3 separate regions of the Homo sapiens genome follow, and all the other regions are linked to region 1. Evidence: promoter capture Hi-C in 16 types of primary human blood cells and fetal thymus (Javierre and others, 2016). All regions are on one chromosome and are shown on one strand. The core of a region is centred on a gene start or on the middle of the fragment in contact, and the rest is flanking DNA. Distances in the headings are between cores, read along the strand shown.

Evidence for each region. The method cuts DNA at HindIII sites, captures the fragments that hold promoters and counts their contacts. A CHiCAGO score of 5 or more calls a contact.
Region 2: a contact is called between a fragment that was not itself captured here and the fragment with the promoter of TTC12 in region 1, in 3 of 17 cell types (monocytes, naive B cells and total CD4 T cells). The highest score is 5.7, in monocytes.
Region 3: a contact is called between a fragment that was not itself captured here and the fragment with the promoter of TTC12 in region 1, in 4 of 17 cell types (total CD8 T cells, naive B cells, non-activated CD4 T cells and 1 more). The highest score is 10.8, in total CD8 T cells.

Annotation. Positions count from the first base shown.
Region 1 is chr11:113,312,738-113,315,942 of GRCh38, reverse strand. It overlaps TTC12 (tetratricopeptide repeat domain 12), which reads right to left and starts at 1,360. Exons shown (of 22, transcript NM_017868.4): 1 at 1,325-1,360. TTC12-DT (TTC12 divergent transcript) reads left to right here and starts at 1,487. Exons shown (of 5, transcript NR_199709.1): 1 at 1,487-1,613. RefSeq lists silencers at 990-1,089, 982-1,276, 1,300-1,549. The HindIII fragment of the contact is 13,389 bases long and covers 94-3,205 here.
Region 2 is chr11:112,242,314-112,245,518 of GRCh38, reverse strand. No RefSeq gene overlaps it. Among named protein-coding and RNA genes, the nearest start is that of PLET1, 17 kb to the left of the region's middle. The HindIII fragment of the contact is 7,112 bases long and covers 1-3,205 here.
Region 3 is chr11:112,299,263-112,302,467 of GRCh38, reverse strand. All of the region lies in intron 2 of LINC02762 (long intergenic non-protein coding RNA 2762), which reads right to left. Among named protein-coding and RNA genes, the nearest start is that of LINC02762, 30 kb to the right of the region's middle. The HindIII fragment of the contact is 241 bases long and covers 1,429-1,669 here.

The sequences.
Region 1 (3,205 bases), core at 111-2,610:
GAGATGAGAAGAGAGCAGATGACAGGTTGCCAAGGATAGAGAAATACACTAACACCTGACTTTGATCATGACAGGCTGGTCTAGTCAGAAGCTTAAATGTGGATGTGTGACAGGTAACAAACTTGGGGCAATTTGCATCTAAATGTCCATACTTGTTTAAAATCTGCCTTTGGCTTGTTTCTGAAGAGTGAAGAAAGGGTACAAATTGACTGAAGGGATTAGAACATAATGTTACCATGCTCACCAGCGTCTCTTCTGCTCTAGGTACCTCAGATATTATTTTACAGTTGTTTTTGTGCGAGAAGGCCCCGTGGTGTACCCAGCAGTACTCAGTGGTTCATCCACAGATCATAAAAATCATCGGGAAGATTGTTAAATATACAGCTTCCTCAGCCGTAGCCCGAGATTTCAAGTCAGTAAACCCGGGACATTGCCCAGACACGAATATAGATTTTAAACACTTTCCAGGTGATTCTCATTTATGGCCAGGTTTCATAGTAGTGTAACACGCTTCTAACACGTAATCTGCCACGAACAAACTACGAGTGATTTAATCGAGTCTCAGTGTCCTCATCTCCACCAGTTACAAGCTGTGTGATTCTGGCTAAATTCACAACCTCTCCGAGCCTCAGAGTCCTCACCCATACTATGGGAACAGTAAGAGAGAAACTACGAGGACTATTCTGGGGACTGATGTAAAGCACCAGGCACGCGACGAGTCCTCACCGTGAAGCACCCTTACCTATATAAAACAGGGGGTGGGGTTGCGGCTTAACTGAATAATCGCTAGGGTTTCTTCCAGGTCAAATCTTTTCAACTCCCACGGAACAGAGGCCTAGTCCAGTGAATTAATCTGCCCAACGGTATGAAGGTTAGAAGGCAGGCGCGCGGGTGCATGGACAGGAGACAACCTCTGTCTCCCAGGGCATGGATCTCAGGGTCCTCACTGCCTGGCCAGTGCCCCCCTACGCTAGGGTGAGAGGGCCAGAGCCAGGTGATGGCGAAGCGGCGCCGCGCTCAGTGCTTCACTCGGTAGGGCTGCGGCAGCGGGGACCTGTGCCCGAGCCCCGCGCGGAGCCTGCCCCAGACGCGCGCTGCCCGCCGGGCGCAAAGAGGCCAGGCCGCACGCACTGTTGCCCAGCAACCGCTCCCAGGCGTCCGCAAGTCCCGGGCCCTCCATGCAGGTCCCAGACCGCAGCCGTCCCAGACCGCAGCCAAGACCTTCCCATGCTCTGGGGCCCAAAGCAGCGTCCTCTGCTCGGCTCTGAAGGCCAGTGCAGGACCAGCTCCCAGGGGGGATTCCGGGGTACCCCGCGGCACCGACCTGATTCGCCCAGCTTTGGACAGGAAATGGCGCAGTGACCTGCCTGGGCTGGGGCGGGGCCAGGAGCCAGGGGCCCGGGGCGGGACCAAGGGCGGGGCCAGGAGCCAGGGCCCGGGGCGGGACCAAGGACGGGGTCAAAAGCCAGGAGGCGGGACAGGGGGCGGGCATGGACACGCGATCAGATTCGCTACCGCAGAGCTCTAGCTCCGGAGCGCGCCAAGTTGAAGGCCAAAGTCGAGGTTGGGATGCCCGATGCCTGGCGCGGGGAGACGGAGGAAGCAAAGTGCTGGTAACTAAAGCAGCGCCTGCTGCTCGCCTTTTTTCTACTGAAGAAGGGTTGTCTCACTCCCGTTAGCTTAATATCCTTGCCCAAAATGTAAAGTCTCCAGTGTACTTGTGAATCCGGTTTTGTTCATTGATAAATGTGTGAGTTAGAAGACTCACACATTTATCCTTAGGAAAGTTATTTGAGTAACCTTTTTAATCCTCAGTTTTCTCACCTGTGAAATGGAGAAATGGCACTTTCTCATAAGGTTTATGGTTAAAGTGCTGTAACCGCCCAATAGGTTCACCTTGCTCACTGCCTAAACAGAGTCGATTTATCAAGACAGGGGAATTGCAATAGAGAAAGAGTAATTCACACAAAGCTGGCTGTGAGGGAGACCGGAGTTTTATTATTACTCAAATCAGTCTCCCTAGCTTTCAGGGATCAGAGTTTTTAAGGATAATTTGGTGGGTAGGGGTCAGTGAGTCGGGAGTGCTGATTGGTAGGCTAGGAGATGAACTCACAGGGAGTCAAAGCTGTCCTCTTGTGCTGAGTCAGTTGCCAGGTGGGGGTCATAAGACCAGATGAGCCAGTTTATTCATCTGGGTGGTGCCAGCTGATCCATCGAGTGCAGTGTCTGTGAAATATCTTAAGCACTGATCTTAGGTTTTACAATAGTTGATGTTATCCCCAGGAGCAATTTGAGGTTTAGAATCTTGCAGCCTCTAGCTGCATGACTCCTAAACCATAATTTCTAATTTTGTGGCTAATTTGTTAGTCCTGAAAAGGCAGTCTAGTTCCTGGGCAAGAAGGGGGTTTGTTTGGGAAAGGGCTGGTATTGTCTTTGTTTCAAAGCTACACTATAAACTAAGTTCCCCCCAAAGTTAGTTTGGCCTATGCCTAGGAATGAACAAAGACAGCTTGGAGATGAGAAGCAAGATGGAGTCGGTTAGGTCAGATCCCTTTCACCATCTCAGTTATAATTTTGCAATGGTGGTTTCAGTGCCTGGTACCTAGTCAGTAGGAACAGGTGGCACGTGACATCCGGGGAATCATAGGGTTTAGAACAGAATGAGCTAATAGGCACATTCATTCATGCCCCAAATACATGCACACAGCCCTAAAGAAATTTCAGTCTGTTTTTCTAAACAAAATCTCAGAGTATTATGTGCAGGGTTACCAATGGAAAAAAAGCAGGTTTAGGGGAAACTTGAGCTTAAGTTCACGGTCAGAAACACCCGGAACTTCTTGGCAAATGAGTGCTTTATGGAAACCTGTTTGGCAGGGAACAAGGAGCCCCTAGAGATGGAATTCGCCAGAGGGGAGAGGGATCCAGGCATGGCCAGCTAGCTCTAGTGTTGATTCCAAGTACAGCCTGTTGACTCTCTTGTGGCCTAGGCCCCATAGGATGCATGCCTGTGTCCTGTAGAGAACAGAAGAGCTGTTTGGCTGAAGTCTCTATGATGCATTGGTACACATACCATCCTGCTTGGGTACCCCTCTAATGCAGTATAACACAAAGGGGCCACGGATGTTCTGCTCCTCTTGGCAGCTGAATGGGTACAGCATCAGCAGAGTGAGTCTTTTGGCTCATCAACTGCAGCAGGAGACCTGGG
Region 2 (3,205 bases), core at 229-2,728, 1.1 Mb after region 1:
ATTGAATCTGTAAGTAGTTTGTAGTAGTATTGTCATTTTAACAATATTATTCTTCCAATCCATGAGCATGGAATATATTTCCACTTTTTGGTGTCCTCTTCTGTTTCTTTCATCAGAATTTTATTTCCTTGTACAGAACTTTTATTTCTTTGGTTAGATTGATTCCTAGGTATTTTATATTTTTTGCAGCTATTGTAAATGGGATTACTTTCTTGATTTTTCAGATTGTTCACTGTTGGCACATATAAATGCTACTGATTTTTGTATGTTGATTTTGTAACCTGCAACTTTACTGAATTTGTTTTATGTTCTATCAGTTTTTTGGTGGAGTTTTTAGGTCTTTCTAAGTAATAAGATCATGTCCTCTTCAAACAAGGTTAACTTGACTTCTTCCTTTACAATTTGGATGCCCTTTTATTCTTTCTTTGCCTAGTTGCTCTGACCAGGACTTCCAGTATCATGTTGAATAAAAGTGGTAAAAGTGGGCAATTCTTATCTTGTACCAGTCTTTAGAGAAAAGGCCTTCAAATTTTCCCCTTTCGGTCTGATGTTAGCCATGAGTTTGACATAGATGGCCTTTAATAATTTGAGGTATGTTCCTTCTATATCCATTTTGATGAGGGTTTTTATGATAAAGGGATGAATTTTATCAAATACTTTTTGACATCTATTGAAAAAATTATATGGTTTTTGTTATTGATTCTGCTAATATGGTACATCATGTTTATTTCTGTAAATTTAATCATTTTTGAAGCATCCCTGGGATGAGTCCCACTTGATCATAGTCAATGATCCTTTGATGTATTATAGGATTCACTTTGCTAGTGTTTTGTTGAGGATTTTTGCATGTATGTTCATCAGTGATATTCGTCTGTAGTTTTCTTTTGTTGTGTGTCCTTGTCTAGTTTTGGTATCAGGGTAACGCTGACCTTATGGGTCTGGAAGTATTCCCTCTTCTTCAGTTTTTTTTTTTTTTTTTGAAGAGTTTGAGTAGGATTGATATTAGCTCTTCTTTAAATGTTAGTTTGAATTCTCCTGTGAATCCATCAGGTCCTAGGCTTTTCCTTGATGGAAGACATTTTATTATACCTTTGATCTCATTACTAGCTATTGGTTTGTTGAGGTTTTCTATTTCTTCACAATTCACTCTTGGTATGTTGTACATAGAATAGAAGATGAAAAGTATAATTTCATTTCTTCATTTATTCATTTCTTCCAGGTTTTCCAATTTATTAGTTTATGCTTGTTCATAATAGTCTCTAATGATTCTTCGTATTTCTGAAGTCTCAGTCGTTATGTCTCCTTTTTTCATTTCTGATTTTATTCATTTGGGTCTTCTCACGTTTCTTCTTAGTCTAGCTAAAGGTTTATCAGTTTTGTTTATCTTTTCAAAAAACCAACTTCTCATTTTGTTGATCTTCTGTATTTTTTGGCTCAATTTCGCTTATTTCTTCTCTGATCTTTATTATTTCTTTCCTTCCACCTATTTTGGGTTTGGTTTGTTCTTGCTTTTCTAGTTCCTTGAGGTGCATTATTGGGTTGTTTCTTTGGAATATTTCTACTTTTTTGTTATAAGTGTTTTTGCTATAAACTTCCCTCTTAGTACTGCTTTTGCCATACCCTATAGATTTTGGTATGTTGTATTTCCATTTTCATTTGCTTCAAGAAATTTTTAAATTTCCTTCTTAATTTCTTCATTGACCCCTTGGTCAAGGAGCATGTTGTTTAATTCCATGTGTATGCATATTTTCCAAGGTTCCTCTTGTTATTGATTTCTAGTTTTATTACATTATGTTCAGAGAAGATACTTTACCCTATCTCTTCCAAAAAAAATGCAAAAATTTAGCTAGGTGTGGTGGTGTGAACTTGAGTCCCAGCTACCTGGGAGACTGAGGCAGGAGGATCACCTGAACCCAAGGAGATCAAGGCTGAAGTGAGCTGTGATTGTGTCACTGCATTCCAGCCTGGGAGATAGTGAGACTCTGTCTCAAAAGAAAAAGGGCAGGATGGGGGAGGGGACAAAAAGCATTCTTAGTTTAAGAATAGGTTTTGCTTTAAAAATCATAGTACACTCATAAATTCTTGCTGAAATCAATAATTACACAAGAGAATAACAATACTAATAGCCTGTCGTAAATTGACCCCAAGTCTTTTTAATAAAGCACACTTTTTTTTAATTATACTTTAAGTTCTGGGATACACATACAGAATGTGGTTTGTTACGTAGGTATACATGTGTCATGGTGGTTTGCTGCACCCATCAACCCAGCATCTATATTAGGTATTTCTCCTAATGCTGTCCCTCCTCCTGCCCCCTGACAGGCCCCAGTGTGTGATGTTCCCCTCCCTTTGTCCATGTGTTCTCATTGTTCAACTCCCACTTATGAGTGAGAACATGTGGTGTTTGGTTTTCTGTTCCTGTGTTAGTTTGCTGAGAATGATGGTTTCCAGCTTCATCCACGTCCCCGCAAAGGACATGAACTCATTCTTTTTTATGGCCACATAGTATTCCATGGTGTATATGTGCCACATTTTTTTTATCCAGTCTATCATTGATGGGCATTTGAGTTGGTTCCAAGTCTTTGCTATTGTAAATAGTGCTGCAATAAACATACGATAAAGCACATTATTCTTAGCCCTTATGTAATCAAAAATCAGGTTCAGTCACATGCCACTTACAGAGTCCAGTTAACAAGAGCAAGATCTGGTATAAAGAAAGTGACTTTTGGCTGGGCACGGTGGCTCATGCCTGTAATCCCAGCACTTTGGAGGCCGAGGTGGGCGGATCATGAGGTCAGGAGATCGAGACCATCCTGGCTAACACGGTGAAACCCCATCTCTACTAAAAATACAAAAAATTAGCAGGACGTGGTGGCGGGTGCCTGTAGTCCCAGCTACTCAGGAGGCTGAGGCAGGAGAATGGCGTGAACCCGGGAGGCGGAGCTTGCAGTGAGCCGAGATCACGCCACTGCACTCCAGCCTGGGCGACAGAGCGAGACTCCATTTCAAAAAAAAAAGAAAGAAAAGAAAAAGAAAAAGAAAAAAGAAAGTGACTTTTTATTCCAAAGCTAGCTTAGAGGAAGACGTAAAGGCTCCTGCCTTTCAGGGTACCACTTCCCTTTTGGAGCAGAAAGCAGGTGCTTTTAAAGGGGGACTTGGCATGTTAGATGAACTTGCCCTGTAGGGAGTAGCTGGTGAAGGGAGG
Region 3 (3,205 bases), core at 300-2,799, 1.0 Mb after region 1:
TGGAAATTAGAATTGCTGGGGCACACAGAGCAATACCACATATCTTCAGCCTAAATAGAGGAGACAGAGCTTAAGTTCAGATCAAATTTAGAAGGCAGTGCTGAGCTCCAGTGGGGCTGTTTGCTCTGAAAGACAAGAATGAATCAGATGGAACGATCAGGCAGCAGCTGAAATATTGTCACTCTTGAAAGTAAACACAGTGGCAAAGATGTGGTGTTCAACATTTTATGTACTTAACAACTGACTAAACTGTACTAAATGAGACCAAAATATGAAGAGAACCAAGCAAATAGTGTTCCAGATGTAAGAAGTGATACAATCCTGCCAATATGCCTACAAAGTTCTGTTAATTTTGTTTTATACCTATATTTGTCTTTATATTTATATATGAATTAAATTCCACAGTAATAATTATTTCAGGCCAGGCACGGTGGCTCATGCCTATAATCCTAGCACTCTAGGAGGCCAAGGTGGGTGGATCACTTGAGCTCAGGAGTTTGAGACCAGCCTGGGCAACATGATGAAACTCTGTCTCTAAAAAAAATACAAAAAAAAAAAAAAATTAGCCAAGCGTGGGCCTGGCTGTCCCAGCTACTTGGGGGGCTGAGGTAAGAGGATTGCTTGAGCACAGGTGGTCGAGGCTACAGTGAGCTGATTGCACCGCTGCACTCCAGCCTGTTTGACAAAGTGAGACCCTGTCTCAAAAAAAATAAATAAATAAAAATAAATTATTATTTCAGGCTGAATTATTAAAGAATCCTAAAATCAGAGGGCAGAATATGATGAGAAACAGGATATCTAGAAAGCATCTCTCCACAAAATGCTTTACTAAAGTAAAAATAGTAACTTTATGGTAGAGAAATCTGGCAGTCCCCACCTTAAACAGGAAGTCAAAGTCATCACCAATAATAAAACAAATCGATGATGTGCTCCTTAATATGATGCTCTGGGAAAGACACAACATCACTTCTGTGATATTCTTGCCAAAAATGTATGACCTGGATTTAGATCTCAAAGAAACATGACATAAACCCAAATTAAGGACGTTCTAGATGATAACTGGGCAGTATTTTTCAAAAATGTCAAGGTAATGAGAGACAAGGAAAAATTAAAGAACTATCGCAGATTATAGGAGACTAAGGGGACGTGAGAGCCAAAGGCAATGTGTGGCCCTGGGCTGGATCCTGGACGAGAAAAGGACAGTATTGGGAAAACTGGCAAAACTCGAATTAGGGCTACAGATTATATCATAGTATCTTATCAATGTTAATTTCCTGATTTTGATCATCATACTCTAAGTTATATAAGATGGTAACATTTGGGGGAATCTGGGTTAAAGAGTGTATGGAAATTCTTTGTACTATTTTTGCAACTTTTTTTAAAAAACTGAAATTAATTCAAAATGAAAAGTTAAAAATAAATAAAGCTTTAAGTGAATTAGAGGATCTCAATTTAGCAGTTATAAGGATGAGGGGAGAGGACTCTTCTTCTGCAAAGCCCTTACTCCCCATTCTCAGATAAAAAGAATTTTGGTAACTGTGAGACATAATAGAACTATCACAAATGTATGAATCTAGCTATATAAATAAAGCAGCATACGTCACCATTCTTTTTTTCCCCTGTAATTGTGTAAAATCTGCAAATTTTTCAAGATAGACAACTACAAGCTTTAGAGCTACAAGAGCTGGTATAAAGTAAGGTGGAGTGCTGTTTCCCATCCGGTAAGACAGGGCCAACACCGTCACTGGGAAGCCAGGAGACTTTGGCTGAGTTTCTCTTAGCTCCGTCTCTTCCTCCGTGAAATGGATTCATCTTAATGCCTGCACTAAGAGATGTGAAAGGGCAGTGCAAAAAGCGTCACTGTCCTCCTACTGCACAGCAGCGCATGGCAATGCTGCCACCGTTCTAAGGAGCATGTCGGGCACTGTGCCACAGCTTGCCTGGTTGGAGGGGACAGTGAGCTAAGTAACCAGTCTCTGGGACAGCCGTATCTAAGGTCTCTAGCCTCAGTCTCCATCCCTCACCCTGTGGTTTCCTCATCCCACTGAGCAAGGCGTGGGATGGGCAAGAGTCCACCGCAAGGGACCAGACAAGCTCCACGGCCCATTATTTGGGACTTCAAGCTGCCAGCTCCCTGCAGCCTCCCCAGTCCACTTTCACGTTCTCATCAGCATACTCCCCGCTGTCAGGCTGCTTTACTGGAGGCACGATTTACATTACACATCAACAACCTAGTGCCACAGGCAGCAAAGGCAGAGACTCATGATGGGCAGTGCCTGGGTCTGGCAGATGATGAGATGGGTGAGCTTGGGCCCCTCAGGACTCTTTTGCATGGAGAGTCGGTGGGAGCCTGCTGGTGTGTCCGTTCCATCCCACGCCTCAACCACAGGGAAATCTCATTCATTCCCCAACCACTCTACTCACCCTGCTGCCACCAGCTCCTTCTTGATCCACTAGGGCACAAAAAAAAAATTGCTTTTTGCTCTTGAGGAAGATGCAAAAGCCTATAGTTCCTGCAGGCCCCACATTCCCTCGCTCACAGGGCAGGGGCTAGACAGGCAGCATTTGTTAGTGTCTCCCATCAAAGTCACTTTCTGACCTGGCTGTTCATCTCTAACCTGCCTGTTCCTGTTTGCCAGTCTGTCCTCCAACGGCAAATGGAGAGCAGCGAGGCTGCCTTTCAGCCCTCTGGGTGCTGCTTTCCCTCCCCTAAACATCTAAGAAGACAGGTGTTCATTGAGCCCCTCTTCTCTGTCAAACCAGCAATAACTCTCTCAAAGAAACCTGCAAAAGGGGCCCACATGCCTGTAATCCCAGCACTTTGGAAGGCCAAGGCAGGTGGATCACTTGAGGTCAGGAGTTCGAGACCAGCCTGGCCAACATAGTAAAACCCCATCTCTACTAAAAATACAAAAATTATCCAGGCGTGGTGGCATGCACTTATAGTCCCAGCTATTTTGGAGGCTGAGGCAGGAGAATCGCTTGAACCTGGGAGGTGGAGGTTGCAGTGAGCCGAGATGGCACCACTGCACTCCAGCCGTCAGAGTGAGACTCCATCTCAAAAAAAAAAAAAAAAAGAAAAGAAAAGAAACCTGCAAAAGGTTTCAAAGTTCAACAAATAGGAATGCAAGTTCTGGTCCTAGAGCCTGCTTGCTGTGCATTCTTGGGTGAGTCATTACCCTTTCTGATTTCAATTACCTAACCG